Linked DNA regions of Homo sapiens: all the other regions are linked to region 2. The links are contacts of gene promoters, found by promoter capture Hi-C in blood cells and fetal thymus (Javierre and others, 2016). All regions are on one chromosome and are shown on one strand. Each heading gives the region's core, a stretch centred on a gene start or on the middle of the fragment in contact. The rest is flanking DNA. Distances are from core to core; before and after follow the strand shown. Region 1 has its middle 270 kb from the start of LINC02655. Region 2 holds the start of SH2D4B (SH2 domain containing 4B). Region 3 holds the start of PLAC9 (placenta associated 9). Region 4 has its middle 370 kb from the start of LINC02655. Region 5 has its middle 310 kb from the start of LINC02655. Region 6 holds the start of TMEM254 (transmembrane protein 254). Region 7 has its middle 290 kb from the start of LINC02655.

Region 1 (2,943 bases), core at 250-2,749, 380 kb after region 2:
ACTTTATAATTTTGGACAATTTAATAAGACCAAAATTCCCTCTATATTTCCTTTATTTGCTAACTGACAGGCTGGAAGAGGAATTAATGAGAAATTTTATTTGAAGTGTTTCATAATATCTATATTAAATTAGATGCCATTTAAGTTTGGGATATTTTCTCCAGTTATTGTTTTTATTATTATTGATTTGGAAAATGATGAAACAGCATCCTTGAATTATAGATGTGAATAGCGAAGTTCAGCATTTTAATAAAAAATAAAATAAAAATGTCAAGCACCTGCTAGACATCCAGAATTCTTCTGTGCTCTACATGGAGTGTGCTATATATAGAGTGATGTATTAGGCAAGGTTTCTCTTGTAGAGAGACTTATGAACTAGAGGATAGGGCCTTAGAGAGTTTTATATTTCACAATATAGATGAGGAAATGACTTGATTCCCTTGCTGAAATACAGCTCAACAAGAATGTGCTCCCTCCTTCTTGTCTACTTAAGAGAGAAGGGGTGTTAGAGCATGGTGCGGAGTGACTGCGTTAGCAGCCTGGCCACAGATGACATGACCTGTTTAGGATGAGAGGATGCCTAAATGCCATTTATTTTTATCTAATATCCTAACATTATTTCTGGAGAGAGCAGACAATGAAGTAAAGTGAGGGTGGATTCAGGAATCAGAAAGACATGGCTTCATGTCCTTGTTCAGTACTGTACAAGCATTTTGTGTTTGGGTGCAAATGACTAATGTGTTTGAACCTCAGTTTTCTTATCTATAAAAATGAAGATAATACAAAGAGGCTGAAATAAGATAACAACAAAAACACCATCCCAATGTCTTACTCCTAGTCTGTGTTTAATGAATAGTAGCTTTTGTTTGTTGTGGTGAGGGTTAGGAAGGTGCTTATGTCTGGATAAAGGGAATTTAAGAGAGTCATGTTCCCAAGTGAAAGAAAACAAAAGACCTTCAGGTTATCTGTACGTAGCATCATGTTGTCAAAAACTGTAGCTGAGAGATGAGAACTCCAAAATTGGCATACTTTGCTAGAATATTGGGCATTTCCCTGCACTGGTTTTCATCACTTCCTGTTCATATTCTTCTCTGTCTCTTTTTCTCAGAGAGAAAAGCAGTGAATGTTTTGAGTAATACATTCAATGGATTTATATTTCAAAACAAGGAAGGAGGGTGATTTGGTGGAGAGGGAAGATTAAAGGGGGAGGGTAGTTTAAGACTTAGAATCAAGGAAAGCAGTGAGGGAAAGGAGGAATGTGGCCCGAAGGCTTGAGGCTCAGGGAAGAATCTGAGTGGGGCCAAAATGTGAGCTGGGGTGTTCAGCAGCAGGAACCCCTCATTTTCAAGCACTGGCCTGTTGGGGGTGCTGAGATTGCAGGATGAGAAGTAAAGGCTGGAAACGTCTCTTTCAGGCCTGATTCCACTAGAGAGTCTTCCTGAGGAAGGTGAAAATAATTTCGTTCCTATTCTAGTGATATAGGAGTTAAGAAGAAATCACTTAGGCAGACAGTAAAGGTATGGGAGTCCTCTGTAAGGCTTTTCTTTTTAATGAAAAGCAGCCCCAAATCATTTCCTAACAAAGAGCAGTCTGTAAAGTAGAGCTGCAAACATAGACAAGCAAGCTGGGAGCTTGCATGGGTGAATGCCGGCAGGAACTAGGGACTAGATGTGTTAAAGATGGCAGCTCCATCTTCCCTTGTCTACCAGCCACGTGTGCAGTAAAGAGCAGACAAGATGGCACTGGCCAAGGAGAGTTTATTTGCATCGTAAGGTTAGGGTGGGGCGACCAGCCTTCTCTGAGCGCTATGTAAACGTTACACCTGATGGAACCAATCTGTGAGCCCTACCTAAATCAGACACCGCTTCCTCAAGCTGGACTATAAAATGTGCATCCGCCACTAGTCAGTCTTTTCTGCTGGGAAGGCTCCTTTCTCTCAATAGAGAGAGCTGTTTTTCTCTCCCTTTTCTTCTGCCTATTAAACCTCCATTCCTAAACTCCTGGTGTGTCTCCGTGTCCTCAATTTTTCTGCCGCGAGATGATGAATCCTAGGTATATACCCCAGACAATGTAACAGCTTCACTAGGAGTGGAATTTTAATAATTATGTAAAACCACAAGGAGCAGCCAGAGGAGGAGAAGGTGTAGAAGTGAGAGAAGCCAGGAGGACTGTAGTGGCAGCCTGAAATGGTCAAATGTTTTCATCCCCAATGAATAGAATTCTAATCACTATGCATTAGTATAAGCACAGGAACTGTGCTAAGTTTAATAAACAGCCTTATTTTCATCTTTTACATGACATTTGTATAACATGTATAATTTCTATAAATTGCCTTGGTGTCCAGAGATGTATACATGTCTCTAAAGGAAGAAGCCCTCATATGCTAAATGAATTATGATGATCGACTTACTTGGGTTAATAATTGATTCACATGAAAGTGAGTAACAGACCAAATTAGAAATTGCTAATTGCCCCATTAGTGACTTGAGAGAGAGAGAAAAAAAAAAAACCTCACACTTTAAACTGTTGTCAATTTGACTGTAGGCGAAAATTTAATTTCTCTAAAAAAAAAAAATAGCATTCAAAGTAGTCAACTTTAAGTAGAATCTGTTCTCCAGGCTTTTTGTTTTCTCTTTAGATGTAGATGCCTTTCTTATCTCCAGTTTCCAATCAGATTTAGATAGCTATAGATATAGGTACTGATTGATGCATTCATCCATCCCCACTTCCAGCACACTACCCCTTCCACCCTTTTGATGTTCCTAGCTTAACCAGAAGAAATAAGCCTGTCATCATCAGTGAAAGGAAGGTAAAGAGTGTCTTGCAGTGGTTATGGTTATGGTCCTAGAAATTTGAGAATTGGTTTGCAATTCTAGCTCTAGTGCTTATTTACTGTGTGATCCTAGATAAGTTCTTGAACCTCTCTGAGCCACTTACTCATGA
Region 2 (2,887 bases), core at 112-2,611:
GAGAAAGAGAATAGCTGGGCAGAGGCTAGGGAAGACCCCCGGTCTCAGAAACTGAGGGGAGCCAGGACTCCCGGTGGGGGAGTCGGTGCAAGCCCTGAGGTGGGTGGATGGGAGTCCAGGGCCACAGCTCTGCAGCGGACAGGCGAGTCCTGTGGCGGCTCTAGGAAGGTCTGGGCACACTGGGACCAGCTAGCTGGACCTGGGTGGGGAGGGGTGGGGCGTCTGACTCCACTCCTGTGACCTGGACATTGCCTAGCTGAGCAGGAGCTTTGACCCTATGGGCTTACAGCTCATCTGAATCTGCTTAGTCCATCTTCCTGTTGTGTTAACCTTGCAGAGGGGGAAGAATGCCAACTCTCCACCCCTCTTCCATCACTCTTGGGTACCTGATCCACCTTCCACCCTCATGGGCAAGGAAGGGGACAGGAAGGTCACCAATCCAACCAAGCCACAGTGCCAAATCCTGTTGGTTCGTTTGTTTTCCCTTGGTTGGGTTATGTTTTCAAACCATCAACAGATTCATAGTTGCTAGTGGATGTCAAATTTCAAAACGGGGGAGTCCCAATACAGTGACTTGTCCATTAGGAAGCCATAGGCAAGCCACTTACTTTCTCTGAGCTTCAATATCCTTGTCCCAATAAGAAGGCATCTGTGATTTGCTCTGAGCACATATTTAGGGTGAGCTTTCACCCTAAAGATCTCAGCAACGGCAGCTTCTACCCACCTTCACACACCAAAGAGAGGGTGGCTTCCCTCCCAGCAGAAGGCAACATCCCGCCATTCCAGTGTGCTTCTGATCAGGGCACAGAGAAGAGCCAGTTTCATCTTCTTTCTTTTTGGTCAACTCCAGGCATCTGCAACAAACAAGATTAACAACGACCATTAAAACTGGCCCCTGGAGGGTTTATCTGTCAGCCACGCATGGCTGCAGGATCTCATTATATATAGGCCAAAGGGAAAGGATGTCTGCTTCCTTTCTGTCCTGGAATTCCAAGATAAAATCCCCTCCAGTTGTCTCTACTGATTCCATTTTGTTTTCTTTCTTGGCTGTAACACAGATAGGAGGAAAAATCTTTCCTCCCCCAAGGCAGAGTTTTAAACGCATCATCTCAGAATGCCAAATGTTCTGGAAAGGAAGAAAGTTGGCAGCGAAGGAACCCGCAGAGAGAGGGGCTGAGAGGGCTGAGGGGCCCAGCAGCTTCTGGCAGGCTCCTCTGGTCTGTGTTTGAAATTGGCTGAAAAGACATGGAATTTAGTAGGCAAGTCTGCCTCCTTCTCCTCCTCTTATCTGCAGAGGAGAGATCAGTTCCCAGCTGGCCGGGGCAGTGTCATTGATATAGCTGGTGTCATTGTTACCTTCCACTAACAGATCACTCGACACCTACCAGCCCAGGCAGGGCTGGGACTGGGCATTTCCTGGCTGAGCTGGAGGCTTGGGCCCTTCCCATTGTCTCAGAACCCCAGGTGATGCCAAGACATGGGCTCTCCTGGGATGCCGTGCTTGGTGACCCAGGAGAAGGACTAGATTGCTCCTGGTGGTTGCTCCCCCTTGCAGAGTCCCACCTGCCCCTTTGGGTCCTGTTGCCTGGCCTCTTTTGCTGTCCTGGGTAGAGGAGATGAGTTCGTCGCTGGCTGCAAGCTGAGGCCAACTGACAATGCTGCACAGAGAAGGGGCACCGAGAGTGGCCCCGGATTGAGCAGTCCGTAGTGCAGAGCAGCCCCTCGGGCGTTCTGCCTGGCCCTGCTTCCCCTGCTGGCTGCCCTTCTGGTGCGTGCATCCCAGGTGGCATCATGCTGCAGCAGATCCTGCACGACATGTACATCGACCCCGAGCTCCTTGCCGAGCTCAGCGATGTGCAGAAGCACATCCTCTTCTACAAAATGCGGGAGGAGCAGCTGAGGCGCTGGAAGGAGCGGGAGACTTGGGAGGCCCTGGCCCAGGACGAGGGTCTCAGGCCTCCAAAGACCAAGCGAGGTACGTGGCTGGGAGTCACAGAGAGGTAGGCCACCAGTCCCCCAGGAGGTAGAAAAATTAGCAGGGCCAGGCTGTGCCCTTCTTCAAGATGGGCACTGGGGTGATGAGGGCTGGGGGCTTGAAACCCTTGTCTTGTGGGCATCAGGTCCCATGAGCCTGTGCTTTTGCCTTTTGGCCAGGACCTTAGGGCTTCGAGGCTGCTGCAGAGGCTGTCCAGCGGCCCTTATTGGAGTCGGGGAGTTGGGACTTGCTTTGTCTTGTTGTGGAAGGCCCGAGTTCTGGGAAGACACCATTGAGACTTCAGATTGTGCTCCGACGTGGTTGGCAATGGTAGGGTGAACGACGGCATATTTGTGACCCTTGCCATTGGTTCTGGGCCAGAGTGTGGTGTAGATATGCAGTTCCTTTCTCCTTGGCATGCGTGGCACACCAGTTCTTGGCTAGGGCCCCTTCTGTGGACTGTGCCTCTCCCTCCAGATCCTCCGGCAGGAGGATGCTGTGGGTTGTCTCTGGAGCCCCACTGGGCATCCGGAGAGAGGGCATCAGGGAACGTCCCACACAATGAATGACCATCCCCAAATGGTCGTAGCAACTGCAGATGAGAAGCAAGGGCCTAGCCTACATTTCAGGTGTTTTGTATGCAAAGTCATGTGCCAGTCAATCCTATGGACTGGTACACCTGTGGGTGAAGGAAATCATCCAGGACCCCTGGGCCAGAAACTGGCAGGCTGCTGAGGCTTGGCTTGGCACAGGACTCAATCCTGCCAGGGATTGTAGTTTCTGTGGATGCTGCATGCACTTTACAGTTTGCAAGGCTTATGTGCCTTCACCCTTTGAAGTTTTCAATCCAGAACAAAGTCCTGTTTCAGGGCTGAGCACACAGCTCCCTTGGTGATCTGGCTCTTCTCCATG
Region 3 (2,999 bases), core at 220-2,719, 410 kb before region 2:
ACAGGCAGAGCCTACCAAGTTGAGGGGACTGGACCTGAATCATTGGACGGAGGGAATTCGTAACAGAAAAGACTTTCATGTTTTACTCTGTATACTTAATTACTTTATGCTCTACCGCAACAATAATGTATTGTATATGTTTTTGTGTGTGTGTGTGTTTTCTTAGTCTTAAATTCAAAATATAAGGTAGCCCACTGGCTCTAAGCTACAAGAATCCTTATGAGTTGGGCAGTTCTTTGACAACTTTTTTTCCCACCTGGCGAAACTATCAAGGAATGTCCTACCACCAAGCGTGAGAAATTTTTGGCATTCCTGAAATAAATTCTTCTTCTGAGCCAGCTCATGTGGGCATCATAATCTCCTTGAAGGCTTTTAAAAGATTTAGATCTGAGTCTGTCTCAGATTCTCGGGCTCAGAACCAGAATTTCTCCGTCTGAGGCTACTATCTTGCTCTGGAGGAGGGAGTGAGAACTGGATCACTGGTTAGCGTGGTAACTGTTTTGGACAATTGCATAGCCACAGCCAGGAACACAGAAGGCAGAGAGGCAGCCTTGATCTGCAAGAGCTCCAGGTAATCCCAACGGGGACCCTTGATGGACAAAGGCATTCTCCCAGGCTTGGTGATGAATGTGTTCCACTTACAGCCAGACGAGACACTCACTCAGGGCTCTGCAGCAGAGAAGTTAGAGCTACAGCTTTTTTGCTTTGTGTTTTTACTAAAACTTAATTTGTTGTTGCACTTGTTGGATGGGCATGTCCCATAGGGGAAGTTTCCACTACTGTGCTCTAAACTTTGGGCTGCTTGTACCATCTTACTTATCCCCTCATTAATAATGAATTGAATAAAATCTTTAGTATATGCTAATTTCATATCTTTGCGAGAGTTACGATTTTACCTTTTCTTTTTAAAATTACCTTTTCATATTTCTATCACTCCCTTACCAGAGCAGTGAGTTTCTGGGTCTCCCTCTTAGGGGCAGACACTGTTCCATGTAATTAGAATTAATTTCTTGTTCGTAGGTAGACAGAGAAAAGCTGCCAAACTCCCAGGAGACAGGGGTTCAGATCCTGTGCTATGGCTGAGAGTGATGCCGAGGAAGACACTTCCCTCCGAGTCTTAGTCTGCCCGCCTGTGAAACTGGCTCGTAACAAACCCCTGACCCCAGGCTCGGTCGCCTTGAGCCCAAGACCTCACCCAATGCCCCCCGCCCCGCCTTCCCTCCCGGGCTCCCAGGAGGTGCGGGGACTCGGGGGGCGGCCCCTTCCTCGGGAGGCGCCCAGGTGGCACGTCGGTGCCTCAGCTCCCGGGGTCTCTGGGCTCCGCGCTGCCCACGGGGTGCCGAGGGGCCTCTGGAGGGGGCGGGTTCTCTCGAGCCAGAAAGTCCGGAGCCGCCCAGGAATTTTGGCTCGAACTGAGTGCATTTCCTCTCGGGCCGGCCGGGTGCGATCCGGGAAGGGCGGCTGCGGGCAGACGCGGCGCTGCGCTCGGCCAGGCCGGCACCATGCGGCCCCTGCTCTGCGCGCTGACCGGACTGGCCCTGCTCCGCGCCGCGGGCTCTTTGGCCGGTGAGTGGGGCGCAGGGCGCGGCAGGGGACCTGGAGCCGGGGAGACCCGCAGATGGCGAGGAAGGAATGAGCGAGAGAGACGGAGAGAGAGCTGGACACAGCAGCGAGATGGACAGAGAGGCAGATGCAGGGAGGGAGGGATGGAGAGAAAGATTGAGAGGAAACAGACTCAGAAAAAGGCAGAGAAGTAGAGCAACGGAGAGATAAAGGAGATAGGGAAGAATACACAGTGAAAAGGAAAAAGGAGAGGCTGAGACAGAAAGAGGCTTCCCCTGAACAGATATGAACTAAGATAGAAAGAAAAAGGAGTTTGAGAGACAAAAGAGAAGAAGGAAAGAGAAAAAGTGATTAAAATGGCAAGGGGTGGAGGGAGAGAGGATATTGAAGAAAAGAGAAAGATTTGAGAGAGACCAAAAAGGAGAGAGAGGGAAGCTCGATGCCCGGAGTAGAGCTGGCAAGAGAGAAGGAGCCAGGATCTGGAGTGGGAGGTCACAGCTGCTGGGTGGGGCAGCCCCGGAGGCCAGCTCCATCTCAGAGGGCCTGTGGAGGCTCAGGCCTGGCTTTATAGGACATTGCATAAGAAGCCACACTCCAAAGGATGAGTGACCCAGGCTAGCCCAGCACAGCCTTAAGGAACCAGGCAGTCGGGCCCAGGAGAAAGGCCACCGATTCACCTGCCAGGTGGCCTCAGGTGGATCTGCAGTCAGTGAAGAAGTCAGCCTCCCGGTTTCCAGGGAGCTTCTCTGGGAAACTGAGCTATGTTGGGTGGAGATGGGGGACTGGGTGGAGGTGGAGAGCTGTGCGGAGGAGAGAGGCTGTCTGGGTACTCCATTAGCTGGGTTCCTTGCTTTTCACTGTCCGCTTTCTTCCCCTCACCTACCCCTCAGGCGGGCGGATCACAAGCTCAGGAGATCAAGACCAGCCTCGCTAACATGGTGAAATGCTGTCTCTATTAAAAATACAAAAAATTAATCGGGCGTGGTGGCACATGCCTGTAGTCCCAGCTACTCGGCAGGCTGAGGCAGGAGAATCACTTGAACCTGGGAGGCGGAGGTTGCAGTGAGCCGAGATCAAGCCACCGCAATCCAGCCTGGGTGACAGAGCAAGACTCAGTTTCAAAAAAAAAAAAAAAAGAAGAAGGAAAGGAGGAAAGTATTCATGTATTAGTGTAATTTCACACTGATTTCATATATTTTTGTGCATAATCTTTCAGATTTTAGATGATATATCTTAACTTTTGATTATGAAAACTTTTGGATACAAAAAAATACAAAGTAATAGTATGTGAAAGAATCATGTAATATACTTATCAACGCTGCTTCAAGAAGTATCAGTTCATGGGCAGTTTTATCTCATCTATAGCCTCCACCCTCTCTCCCCTCCCTGGATTATTTTAAAGGAAATCCAGGCATTGTATATTTTCTTTCTTTCTT
Region 4 (2,954 bases), core at 162-2,661, 480 kb after region 2:
CTTAAAACTTGATGGCAGTTATATAGGTGTTTGTTTCGTGATATCTCATTGAACGGTTGCATACCTAGCATATTTGACAACTAGAATAGATAATCTGACTACCAGAATAGATAATAAGGGAGTTTCCCAATCCTCTTTCTAGGTGATGAAATTATTTTTATTAATAATCACAATAATCAATGAATAATCCATATTTTAGGGATTCATCTTTAGTTTTAAAACAACTAAAGCAGAAGAATAAAATTCAAATAATATTATACTTTACAGTTGGCTCCCTGTTTCACTGTTTTACATTTTAACATACATAAAATCTCCAAGTAGTCATATTTAATAATTCAATTAAATAGAATTCTATTTCTTCATTTTTATAGTCATGGTGTGATTATTGCTGATTTCTAATATCATATCATGTGTTGGAGACTCACTGTTCCCAAAGCATGCAATTGGAAACCATTATTGTATTTGTTTGCTAAGGCTGCCATAGCAAGATACCACAGAGTGGGTGGGTTAAACAATAGAAATTTAATTTCTCACAGTTCTGAGGGCTGAAAGTAAGTCCAGGATCAAGGTGTCAGCAGGGCTGGGTTCTCCTGAGGCTCCTCTCCTTGTCCTGCAGATGGCTGCCTTCTGGCCGAGTCCTCACATAGCATTTCCTCTGTGTGTGCACATCTCTGATGTCTCCCCATGTGTCCTGATCTCCTTGTATCAAGACACCAGTCAGATTGGATTAAGGGCATCTTAGCGACCTTATTTTCAATTACTTTCCTTTTTAAAAGCTTTGTCTTCAAATACAGTCTCATTCTGAGGTGCTGGGGGTTAGGGCTTCAACATGAATTTGGGTAGGGGTGGCACAGAATTCGGCCCATAACAATTATAAATTTAACTCTTGAAAGAATGTTTGTAGCTTGTACCCTTGTGTTGGGACCTAACCATGTAACTGGAAGTTCTCTGGATTAGTGTCCATGTTGAACTCAGAGTTTATTAAAGAATACATAATAATAGTGCTAATTTTACACACACTCACACACATATATACTTAAGACTCAGTAGTAAGCACACTATTGTTTAGAATTTAAATCAACACAGGATATTTTATTCAATGAAGAATATTCTATCACTGACATTGCTCAGAAATTCTGGCCCAGAGTGATGATTAAAAGCAGACCAATTTTAGTTATTTTTTAAATTGTTTTTAAGTTTTCTGCAGAGAACGTGCCCCCTTATTGCCTGAAGTCAGTGCAGATCACTCTAACAGTGATCTTGGTCCACCTCTGTCCATGGAATTTTATATTTATGCTTTATGCACTTTTCTGCATTGGTGTTATATTTCAATATGTTTAAAAAGTGTTGACTTGGAAGCTAGATAGATCAAGGTTCAAATCCTCCATATGTATAAATGATGCTGTCCTTTGCAAGCTGCTAATCTTCTCCATGCTTTGGCTTCTCACTCAGAAAATGAGGATTACACTATACCTCCCAGGAGCATTACGAAGATTTAAATAAAATCAGATACTACATATAAATACTTAGTCAAGTTCCAGGCACAGAATAAAATGCCCACTGATGGAGTTTGAATGCATGTCCCTGCCAAATCTTGTGTTGAATTGTAATCCCCAATGCTGGAGGTGGGATCTGGTGGAAGGTGCTTGGGTCATGGGGGCGGGTCTTTTATGGCTTGGTGCTGTGTTCATGATAATGAGTTCTTGTGAGGTCTGGTCATTTCAAAAGTGTCTGGCACTTCTCCTCCGACTCTCTCTCACTTGCTCCTGCTTTCAACATGTGACGTGCCTATTCCCTCTTTGCCTTTCGCTATGATTGAAACCTCCCTGAGGCTTCACCAGAAGCTGAGTAGATGCCAGCACTATGCTTCCTGTAAAGCCTGCAGAACCATGAGCCAATTAAGACTATTTTCTTTATAAATTACCCAGTCTCAGGTATTTCTTTATATAGCAACACAAGAATGGACGAATATACTCACTATTGAGTGAATCACATAGAGAGTTCTAGTTATTGTCATTTCACTTGTTTGTCTAAATTACTCAATCTCAAGCTTCCTGTGAGGAGATACAATCTTAGATGAATGACTTAATTTGCTAGCTCTTATGTGACAAGCACTGTTAGTGAGAAGATGACCCGTGTTTATAGACTTGTGGAGCAGGCAATCAAGTAGGAAAAACACAGCAATATATCTTACTGTGTTAGTGGAGAAATGTGTAGGAAGCTGTGGGAGAACCAATAAGGGAGCAACTGAGTTGCTGGAGCGATCAGGAAAAGACTAGCTAGAGGAGATTAATTTGAGCTTGATTTTGAAACCTGCGAACAGACAATGGAAAGGCATGACCTGCACAAAGGTTACTAGAGATGCTTCCTATAGGGCAGTGGTTCCCTTGGGGACAATTTTTCTCCACGGAGGATATTTGGCAATGTCTGGAGATCTTTTTGTTTATCAGAACTGTGGAGGTGCTACTGACATCTAGTGGGCAGAGGCAAGAGTTGCTGCTAAACATCTTGCAAGGCACAGGACAGCCCCTAGGCCGAAGAATTATCCTGCCCACAGTGTCAATACAGCTGAAGTTGAGAAAGCCTGCTGTAAGGTTTCCTTTGAAGAAACATAAAAAAAAAAAAAAAAAAGAAAACATAAAATATACTTGGGTAATTTATTATTATATCTTTTATTATTATATTTTAAAATTGATATTTGGCGGGGATGGCAGATGGCTTGCTTTTCAAAGTACACCCCAAAGTTGTAAGAATAGCAACCCCAGTCAGGCCCCAAGGAAGGGCTAGTGTGGGGGACCCTGTCCCAACTCCCCACACATCCGGGCATCACAGTGCAGTTTCCAGAAACAGCAGTGGGTGGCAGAAGACGCTACTGCAGTGAGGCAGAACTGCCCATTAGAAACAAGGAACACATTGGGCCTCTAGTATCTTCAGGTGAATGCAGGAAAAAATGG
Region 5 (3,171 bases), core at 281-2,780, 420 kb after region 2:
ATGCTTCCTCTTTATCGCAACTCAGCAATCTTAGAGAAAATAAGGCTTAACAAGCAAGTCGTTGTTCAGATGTTGAGGAGGCAAAGTTGGGTCGATATTTTAATTTGAGTCTTACAATTATGGATGCAGATAGCATTTCTTGACACTGTGCTGATTCTTAATAGAATGCTCAACACACATTTCATTTTAGATCAGTTCTTGAAGATCCATATAATATATAAAACCAAAATTGCTCTCCTTAAAAATCTGAATTTTCATGTTAGAGTTTCTGAGCTCTATCATTTCTCTCATCGTTCACCTCTGCCTTGTTCAAACATGCTCCATCTATTTATCCCCTATTTATCCCTTAAGACTTGCTTAATAGCATTAAGATAGTTTTACATTTATTATGTCTTAAGAGTAAACATTATGTCTTTTCAATGATTATCTTTTTTCAATCTTTACTTACAATTAAAATAACAAAAATAGTAACATAAAATTAAAATTAAAAATAAAATGACAAATTCCATGTTTGGGCTTTACTCAGGTGCATCTAGTTTTAACTAGTATCAAATTAACCTTCTTTTTAAATATAACTTTCTTCTCTCCAGATAGAGTGACTGCAGTGAATATCTTTGGGTGAAGCCAATTTTCTTCTTTGCAGTTGTTTCAGGTAGCAAATTAGGAGTCAATTGCTGGATCAAAGAAACCATCACTTGAATTTTTATAATTCTTTCCAAATGTTTGAACCATTTTACAGTGCCACCCACTTATTGATTTTAGGAGCAATTATTTTGTAGCTTTCAAATCCATTTCCTCACAAATTCCATTTCTCTGCCTTGCTGATTTTCAAATTTATAGGCATAGATGCAAATGTTTAAGATAATTTTGTTACATTGCTATTAAAGTGTTTTTATGGGAGATAGAAGGAAGGTATGAGAAGAGTTTTGTTTCATTTTAGGTGCTAGAAACAAGGATAATATTAAAAATAATCAACAGCTCATTTGATATAGATATTGCATAATTAAAAGTAGTATCTGATCAATCAGAGTGAACAGCAAGGTGAAAAACCCATACAGTTAGATTAGTGCATCTGAATGAATATCAGTCCTAGCTAGGAAGACAGACAATGAGCTGCTAATTTAAATATAGTTGAGACACCATAACTTGGATTCAGAAGCTTACCCTGAGATATTTAACTTGAGTTGCTAGTCACTTCATCATTAACTGCCAACTACTACAACTATTAGACTTTGAAAAGATGAGGAACTTGAACAGTTAACAGAAACTGAGAAGATTCTCACTCTTAGTTATAAGCAGATAAATGTAATTCAAAAGAAATCTAATTTTATACCCAATATTGGCAAAGATTGGAATGTTGAATAATTTCTGGTGTTGACCAAGATATAGAGAAAAAACATGTTACAGCTATTGAAAGTGTAAATTCATACTGTCTTTTGAGAGAGCAATCTGGCAGTACTTAGAGAAATGAAGAATGGGTATTCCATATGAGCCAGGCTCCCACTCACTCAGGTCATAGGCAGACAAGGGTGAGAATGCTTATCATGACACAGTTTGAGATGAGCAACAGAGGTGCCCACATTCATTATAATGAATAATAAAAATGGGATGCATGGATATAAAGCCATATGGACAGATTTTAAAATACAATGTTGTGTGAAGCTATTAATAAATAGAAAAAGGCCTATAGCACAATGTCATTTATGTAAATTAAAATGTTTTATTTAAAATAACAAAAGGTGAATTATAAAATGTTAAATAATTAATCTCAATACACTGTATTTTTATTTTGCAATCCAGTATAAATTACTATCCTCATACTTTAAATATTTTTCTTTATCCCTAATGTGAAAAGTAATTTTTAATTTTTAGATTTCATTGTTTTCTAAGAAATCTGGAGAAGAAGCTTATTTGATAGTAGAAATGGTTTAAACGATAAAAAAAGATAAAATGACAAAATGCATAATTGTATGTATGTATATATAAAGAGAGATTACAATTAGATTGATAAACAGAAATCATCAAATTTCCCTCCAGATGAGCCTTTACCAAGGTCATGCATCCAGCATCTTCTTTTTATGGGATGGAAAAAGTAGGGCAGGAAAGGTAGTGGGGACTGGGTTGGAGGGGTACAATAAAATGCAACAATTGGGGCATATAACATGCAAATGTGATAATAGTATTCTTTAATCTAAGCAGTATGATTAACTCAACTGTTTCTACTGAGATCAAAGTAGAAAGAAAGAAAACGAAGAAAGGAAGGAGTCAGGGAGGGGCAGAGAACAAGACACAGAGAGAGAGGAAGTTTGGCAGGCATAAAGACAGATGCAAGGGAATAAATAAAGAAAAGTGAAGCAGTATTTTCTTTTTTGGAGGCAGTGGACTGTACATAAAAATTAAATTTAGTACCTCAACAGGGTAGTTGCAAAAATTTTGGAAGGGAAGTAAAAAGCAAAACTGGGAAAACATATTTGCAAAATATATAATAGTCAAAGGGTTATTTTCTTTGGCATATTAGGCAATCCTACAAGTTCACAACTCAATAGCAAAGAACATTTATAGTATAGACAGTTCACAGAAGGACTACAAATAGCTAAAAATTATATTAAAAATTGCTAGAATTATTCATAATGAAAGTACTGTAAACAAAACAATAATTTGATTTGTTCACTTATTAAACTGTCGCATATTACCAAGTTTTATAATGCCCAACACTGGTGAATGGAAGAATTCTAGAAATTTCATATTCTGTTGAAGAGAGTATATAATTAATACAGCCTCATTTAAAGGACAATTTGACCATATCATTCAAAATTTAAGATGTGTTTCTATTTGACTCACATGTCTTAGAAATTATCCTATGCATTTATTAACATGTGGAAATACATATGTATTTATCATCTGTGTAATTTGGGTAATTTCTTTAACTTCTATGTGCGTCATTTTCCTTATTTGGGTAAAACTGAGGTAATAATAGTGACTACTTCATAAAGTTGATGTGAGGATTGAATTATTGACATGTGGCTGGGTGTGGTGGCTCATGCCTGTAATCCCAGCACTTTGGGAAGCTGAGGCAGGAGGATCACATAAGGCCAGGAGTTTGAGACCAGCTTGGCCAACATGACAAAACCCCGTCTTTACTAAAAATACAAAAATTAGCCAGGTGTGGTG
Region 6 (3,086 bases), core at 507-3,006, 460 kb before region 2:
TCTTTAAGACTTTATATCCCAAGATACTCACGTAAAAAATGAGGAAAGAGAACCTTGGTTGGTTCCAGAGTGCCCTCTCTGGAACTGGAACACTCAGCTGCCAATTGTTTTCCAGTATTCCTCACCCACTTGGGCATGACAGGACCCTGTGCTGTTTCTTCTTCTTTGAAATAAGGACAATAGTTTACTGCCTAGGATTGTTTTAAGAATTAAATTAGTTAATTATTGTATAGTACTTAGAACAATGCCTTGAACATAGTAGGTGTTCAATAAATACCAGCTACAGTATAGTAACTTTTTTTTTTTTTTTTTGACGGAGTCTCACTCTATAGCCCAAGCTGAAGTGCAGTGATTGGATCTCGGCTCACTGCAACCTCCGCCTCCGGTGCTCAAGCAATTCTCGTGCCTCAGCCTCCCAAGTAGTTGGGACTATAGACACGCGCCACCACCCCCAGCTAATTTTTTGTATTTTAGTAGAGACAGGGTTTCACCATGTTCTCCAGGGTGGTCTCGAACTCCTGAGCGATCCACCCACCTCGGCCTCCAAAAGTGCCAGGATTATAGGCTTGAGCCACTGCGCTTGGCCAGTAACCCATTTTTAAGGCCCAGGTGAAATAGTTTTTCTATTTCTATGATTTTCTATTTCTATGATTAAATAGTGTTTAATCAGACACTTCAGCTGCATATACCTCCCACAGCTCATTGATGATACAACAGTTCGCACAGGGCCTGGCACACATGCTAAAGGCTCAGCAGTATTGATAATCACCCACACTTACAAAGCACTATGGGCCAGACACTGCTGTGCTTTCTTTACAGATATCAACTCATTTAACCCACCCTAAAAACCCTGAGGTTCCCAAAACTGGCATATCCTCATGTTACAGATACAGAAACTAAGACACAGCCGGGCTAAGTAATTAATCTAAGCTTACACAAATAGCCGAGACAGAGCCAGGACTTAAATCCAGGCAGCCTGTTTCACAGTCCCTGCTCATAACCATGGTGCTGTATAGTTCCAAACATCTTAACTAATGAGGACAGCATTATTTCTCAAGGTGCACAGCACAGAGAACTTCAAAAATTAGACTCTTAGTAAAACACCATCTTTTTTTTTTTTTTTTGAGACAGGGTCTTGCTGTGTTGCCCAGGCTGGAGTGCAGTGGCGTGATCTGGGCCCACTGCAACCTGCACCTCTCAGGTTCAAGAGAGTCTTGTCTCAGCCTCTGGAGTTGCTGGGACTACAGGCAGGCACCACCGCGCCCAGCAAATTTTTTGTATTTTTAGTACAGACGGGGTTTCACCATGTTGACCACGCTGGTCTCAAACTCCTGACCTCAAGTGATCTGCCCGACTCGGCCTCCCAAATTGCTGGAATTTATTCCAACACCTCATTCATTCATTCATTCATTCGAGACAGAGTCTAGCTATGTTACCCGGGCTGGTCTCAAACTCCTGGGCTCAAGGGATCTTTCTACCTCAGCCTCCCAACGTGCTGAGATTACAGGGACACGCCACCGCGCCAGCCCGAACATCTTTATCTTAAACCCAGAAAAGTGACAGGAGTGTCTCCCCTACAAGATGATGACCAGCCCTCCAGACCTGAGCCCAGGTGTGATTCCAAGGCCCCTGTACTGGGGCCAGACAGGGAGACTCGCTCTCAGGGACTTCCCAACCAGCACCATCTTCTCCCTGCGGGGATGGCGAGGGAGCGCGGGCCGGCCCCGGCCCTGCCTCCGCGCTCGCGCTCGACGGTGTCCTGAAGCGCGCTCCCGGGGAGGTGTTGCAGCCATGGCTACGGCAGCCGGCGCGACCTACTTTCAGCGAGGCAGTCTGTTCTGGTTCACAGTCATCACCCTCAGCTTTGGCTACTACACAGTAAGGACAGCCGCTGGAGCGCTACGGTCTGACGAACGAGCGAGCGCTCGGTTCACCCCAGGACCTGGGCTCACAGGCCGCGGGCCGGGGGAAGTCGTGCAAGCACAATCCCGACTCCCGCGCGCTAGGAGCGGAGGGGAGGGGACCAGACTCCGCAATGAGAGCAAGCATACTGGTCCGCCAGGGTCTTGGGCGGGCGCCCAGGGCCCTGAGAAACCGGCTAGCCAGGCTTTTCTTATATGGGGGCGGGGACGGCTGGGGAGCTCCCAGCCAACTCTGTGTCTGGGTTTTTCAAGAGGATGGTGAAGTCGGAGGCCAGCAATGCGGCTACCGCCTATTTCCGTCCAGCAAGACCCTTGCCCTCTCTGGTCACAGTCCTGGGGCTGGGCTACTTCGCGGTGAGGCGTGGGGTGGGGCGGGGCGGGCCTCTGTTTTGGCCCGCCGGGCCCTCGTAGGGCGAGGGGAGCTCTGGGAACGGGGCCTGTGCGCACGCGCATCTGACGGTTGTCTCGGTTACTCATGTAAGCGGAAATTCGGTGGGCTCTTAGGATAGTTTCTGCTTTCTAGTGTTCCTGTCTTTGGGTCCTCACCTCTGCATGGTTACTAACGGGTTATCCGAGCCTAAGCCTCTCACGAAGCGGAAAGTCAAGTTAACAGACTGCCATAGGCCTGCCAAGTCAGAATAGGGCTTCCGAAGCAGAATGTTTGAGCCAATAGGAATTGTTTGGAAAACGGGGATAAATCTAAAGGATGGGTAGGATTTAAGTGGTAAGGGAGGATAAAGAGGCTATAACTGTTCTGACATAGGTGTGGAAGCAAGAAGAAAGCTGTACCTAGAAAAAGAGCGACGTTTGTTTGGCTGAGAAATAATCTGTTTAAAGGATAACGAGAAAGATGCGTGGAAAAGTAGGTTGGGGGCTAAGGTGGTAGTTTTGTGTTTTTTTGAGACGGAGTCTCGCTCTGTCACCCAGGCTGGAGTGCAGTGGGGCGATCTCGGCTCACTGCAACCTCTGCTTCCCAGGTTCAAGCGATTCTCATGTCTTTACCTGTAGCTGGGATTACACTATGCCCAGCTATTTTTTTGTGTTTTTAGTAGACATGGGTATTGGTGAGGCTGGCCTCGAACTCCTAACGTCAAGTGATAAGGTGGTAAAATTTTGAAGGAAGGCGAAGCTATTTGGGTATACCAATAGATCCTGGAGATTGGA
Region 7 (3,388 bases), core at 622-3,121, 400 kb after region 2:
AACTTGATTGCTTCTCACTTCGGTGTCATAGTTTGGAAAGATTAATGTACCATGAGATTATTTAAATGTTGGGTTTATTTTCTATACTCTTATATTGGATAGCTTTTTTTAATACACCTGGACTAAATACTAGTGCATTATGTAAGCTAAAGGTAGTATATAATTATTTCTAAATAATTACATTATTATCCCAGGCAACTTACAGAATTTGACAAATTTTCCAGTGATTTGACCTGTCATCTCTATATGCTAAAGTTGGCAAATAAATATTTCTACTTAATTCTGAGTACATTTTATAATTAAAAATTGTTTATACAGTTATCGAGTTAACTGAGATTTTAAAATTCATTAATATCAGGTTGTTTATAGAGCTCCTTTTTACATATAACTATTTTCTTAGCATCTGTGGTCATACACAACTTTTTATTTGCAGTTTGCTTTGTTTATTTAGGATGGGCTTAAAGAGTTTGGCAGAGGGATTATGAGGGATCTTACCTACTTCATGAAGTTAAACTGGGGACTGGAAGGGATTTCTTCAAACTTCTTTTTGAAACCTTGTGTGAGATCCTGTACTGGTTCCTTGGGCTGGACTCACCCTCCCCCTATCAAAGCCATGTTTGTGGTCTTATATAACATAACATCTGCAGCCTGAAGCCTGGGGCTTAGTGGGCCCATGGGGCCATCATGATTCTGGCTTGCTTGCTCTGCCTTTCCCTGGTGTAAGTATTGTAACTATGGCATCCTGGCCAAGTATGTAAGACTCCAACTTAATCATGTGCAGTCAGACAGCAGAGACTGTTGAAAAAGATGACTTTCTCTTTATTTATACCACCATGGTATTCAGGATGTGCTCTCCAAGGAGAACTGGAGCCTGTAAGATGTGGATGAGTTGTGCATCAGTGGTGCTTGACAGTACAGTGCCTTACTTAGTCTTTCTACAGCTTCACCTAACTCTAATGACTGTCAGTTATTTGCAAGTATGGAAGGTCCCCGTGAGCTGAATGCCTGCAAATATTTAATGTATGTCATGCTGCTTGAGGACAAGATCAGCCACTATTCCTCTGCAAAATTCCTGGTCCAAGGTCCTGTGCTGAAGCTTTATGCAAGGTTGTTGATTGTTTAATTGTGTATCACAAGCAAAGAAATAAAGAGCCTGAATGGATAATGGTAGGCAATTAGCAAAACAAATTATTTGAGATACATCATGTGTAGTAGACAGAATTTTGGTCCCTGTAATCTCTGCTACCTTGGTGTTACTCCTGTGGTTATGTTGTGTTAAGTGGCAAAAGGGAATTTGCAGATGGGTTACTAGTTAGTTTATATTTAAATAGGAAAATTATCCTGGATATTTAGGTGGCCCAGTGTAAACACTCGAGGCCCTAAAAGCAGAGGAGGAAGGCAGAGAGGGGCAGTAGAAGGGGAAGCCAGAGATATAGGAAGCACAAGAAAGATTTGCCATTATTGTTGGCTTGAAGATGAAAGAGATACTCTGTCCAAAAACAGGAGCATCAATCCTACAATTGCAAGGAACAGAATTCTGCCCATAGCTAGTGAGCTTGGAAGAGGGTCCCAAGCCCCAGGTGAGAACTGCAGCCCCTGCCAATACTTCGATTTCAGCCTTGTAAGACCCTCAGAAACTGCAAGATAATAAATAGGCCTTATTTAAGCTGCTAAGTTTGTGGTAATTTGTTATGGCAACAATAGATAACTAACACATGATATGAAATACCATGAAAGGAAATGCCATGTATCTCTTAAAATTGTCTTGGAAGTAATCATGTGTTGAATTGCAAAATGAAATTCAAAGTATGACTCTGATGTGTAGAAAAAATGTACTTTTCTTAATTTTTATCTATAATTTATACAACCTTCTCTCTCAAGTCCCTACCCACAGGTTAGTGGGAAGAATGACCTGTGTTTAGTCTTGCTTTAAGCCTAGTCCAGGCTGATAACTTAAATGGTAACTTTGGGTAATATTGAGTCACTTTTTCATAAAAAATACTGTTTGTCTTAATTTCTTCCCCTCCTCATGCTTCCTTCTCTCAGATGGGAGGATATGTTTGAAATTGCATCCAGGAGGTGATTTAGGAGAACACATGGCATTGGACGGGAAAAATGATCCTCTAATCTTCATGGTGACTTTTAATTTATGCTTAGTCTGCTGGTCTTCAGGACAATATTCCTTCTGCCTGAACTGTTGGCCCCGCTGGCATTCAAGACAGAAAATTTTGACTAATATAAGTCATATGCCCATCATTCTCAGCTATGTTGGGCCTCTGTTCTCTTTGGCTGACTCTGCTGTGCCCACCTTGTGTCTCCCTGGCAGAAGAAGACTGACGTTTGGCTGGGTCTCTGCTGTGGTTCAGTTCAGAGGAAGTGCTTTGTGGCAGCTGCTAGAGACTCCCCTTGCTCCCTTCCTGGTGCCCTTCAACATGCTCCACAGCAGGACTCACAACATCTTTGAATCCCATGTCTATCACACGGAAACTAGGAATGGCTCAGGAAGAGCCACATCTCCCTGGTCAACAGGTCATGGCCAAACCTGAGATGAAGCAGGGCCATTTATCTGCTTGTCTCAATGCCTTTTTTTCTGTCTTTCTCTTTTCCTATTACGTCTCCTCTGTCATAGCCTCCTATCATCAAGAGAAAAGCTTTATGAATTTATTGTCCTGTGTAGAAGGTCTATCTCTGCCAAACTGTGGGAGAACTCTGTAAGTATGTATCTGTCAGGCACGGCCGCTGCAATTTTAAATAGAGGAGATAAAGAAATTTTGAAAATCCTGTCTCAAAATGCTTGCCTCTCAAGCTAATTTTCTTGTGGCAAAATCCTAGTTTTCTTATCAGAAGCTGATTATTGCTTTGTTCTTTCCATTTCTTCTGAAACATATGTTCAACTGCCTGCAGAAAGATGGATAAGGTAAGAGAGAGAACACATTAATAATGTTCAAAATATCAACACATTAGAATTACTTACTGTCTTCGATCCTATCTTATTAAAGAATAAAGTTATAAAACAGTGAAAAAATTGTAATCATATAGAAGAAAATTGAAAACCTGAACACAAAGTTAATTTCAATTGCATAGTAGAAGGCTTGTGGAGATTTTGGATTTATTTTTTGTCTCTTTTTTTTCCAATTTTTCTTCTGTGAATTTACATTATTTTTTATAACTTCACAAAAATAACGTATTATATTTAAAACTTAGGATACTTAATCCACATATTCTTCCTTCTTTTTTCCCCTTTTTGTTCTAATTTATTCCTTCAGTTACTTCCTCTGTCTCAGGTACCGAAGTGCCAAAATTGGTTAATCTTTTGCTCAACTTAGCGTCCTCATGCAATTTGAAGTTACAATTCAACATGAATTCAGAGATTTTCAGCATAGCTCTA

What was found. The method cuts DNA at HindIII sites, captures the fragments that hold promoters and counts their contacts. A CHiCAGO score of 5 or more calls a contact.
Region 1: a contact is called between a fragment that was not itself captured here and the fragment with the promoter of SH2D4B in region 2, in 3 of 17 cell types (M2 macrophages, M0 macrophages and M1 macrophages). The highest score is 10.9, in M2 macrophages.
Region 3: a contact is called between the fragment with the promoter of PLAC9 here and the fragment with the promoter of SH2D4B in region 2, in 5 of 17 cell types (naive CD8 T cells, fetal thymus, neutrophils and 2 more). The highest score is 10.4, in naive CD8 T cells.
Region 4: a fragment that was not itself captured here is called in contact with the fragment with the promoter of SH2D4B in region 2 in 3 of 17 cell types (M2 macrophages, M0 macrophages and M1 macrophages); the score reaches 13.2 in M2 macrophages.
Region 5: a contact is called between a fragment that was not itself captured here and the fragment with the promoter of SH2D4B in region 2, in 2 of 17 cell types (M0 macrophages and M2 macrophages). The highest score is 6.4, in M0 macrophages.
Region 6: the fragment with the promoter of TMEM254 here is called in contact with the fragment with the promoter of SH2D4B in region 2 in 3 of 17 cell types (naive CD8 T cells, activated CD4 T cells and non-activated CD4 T cells); the score reaches 7.6 in naive CD8 T cells.
Region 7: a contact is called between a fragment that was not itself captured here and the fragment with the promoter of SH2D4B in region 2, in 4 of 17 cell types (M2 macrophages, M0 macrophages, M1 macrophages and 1 more). The highest score is 11.6, in M2 macrophages.

What each region holds. Positions count from the first base shown.
Region 1 is chr10:80,918,746-80,921,688 of GRCh38, forward strand. No RefSeq gene overlaps it. Among named protein-coding and RNA genes, the nearest start is that of LINC02655, 270 kb to the left of the region's middle. The HindIII fragment of the contact is 6,328 bases long and covers 1-2,943 here.
Region 2 is chr10:80,536,541-80,539,427 of GRCh38, forward strand. SH2D4B (SH2 domain containing 4B) reads left to right here and starts at 1,362. Exons shown (of 8, transcript NM_001388272.1): 1 at 1,362-1,975. The coding sequence starts at 1,792. The HindIII fragment of the contact is 17,935 bases long and covers 1-2,887 here.
Region 3 is chr10:80,131,261-80,134,259 of GRCh38, forward strand. It overlaps PLAC9 (placenta associated 9), which reads left to right and starts at 1,470. Exons shown (of 4, transcript NM_001012973.3): 1 at 1,470-1,566. The coding sequence starts at 1,503. The HindIII fragment of the contact is 6,415 bases long and covers 1-2,999 here.
Region 4 is chr10:81,016,850-81,019,803 of GRCh38, forward strand. No RefSeq gene overlaps it. Among named protein-coding and RNA genes, the nearest start is that of LINC02655, 370 kb to the left of the region's middle. The HindIII fragment of the contact is 1,274 bases long and covers 775-2,048 here.
Region 5 is chr10:80,959,194-80,962,364 of GRCh38, forward strand. No RefSeq gene overlaps it. Among named protein-coding and RNA genes, the nearest start is that of LINC02655, 310 kb to the left of the region's middle. The HindIII fragment of the contact is 747 bases long and covers 1,158-1,904 here.
Region 6 is chr10:80,076,909-80,079,994 of GRCh38, forward strand. It overlaps TMEM254 (transmembrane protein 254), which reads left to right and starts at 1,757. Exons shown (of 4, transcript NM_025125.4): 1 at 1,757-1,878. The coding sequence starts at 1,792. It overlaps TMEM254-AS1 (TMEM254 antisense RNA 1), which reads right to left and starts at 2,285. Exons shown (of 4, transcript NR_027432.1): 1 at 1,819-2,285. The HindIII fragment of the contact is 2,319 bases long and covers 929-3,086 here.
Region 7 is chr10:80,940,190-80,943,577 of GRCh38, forward strand. It overlaps the pseudogene WARS2P1. Among named protein-coding and RNA genes, the nearest start is that of LINC02655, 290 kb to the left of the region's middle. The HindIII fragment of the contact is 1,555 bases long and covers 1,095-2,649 here.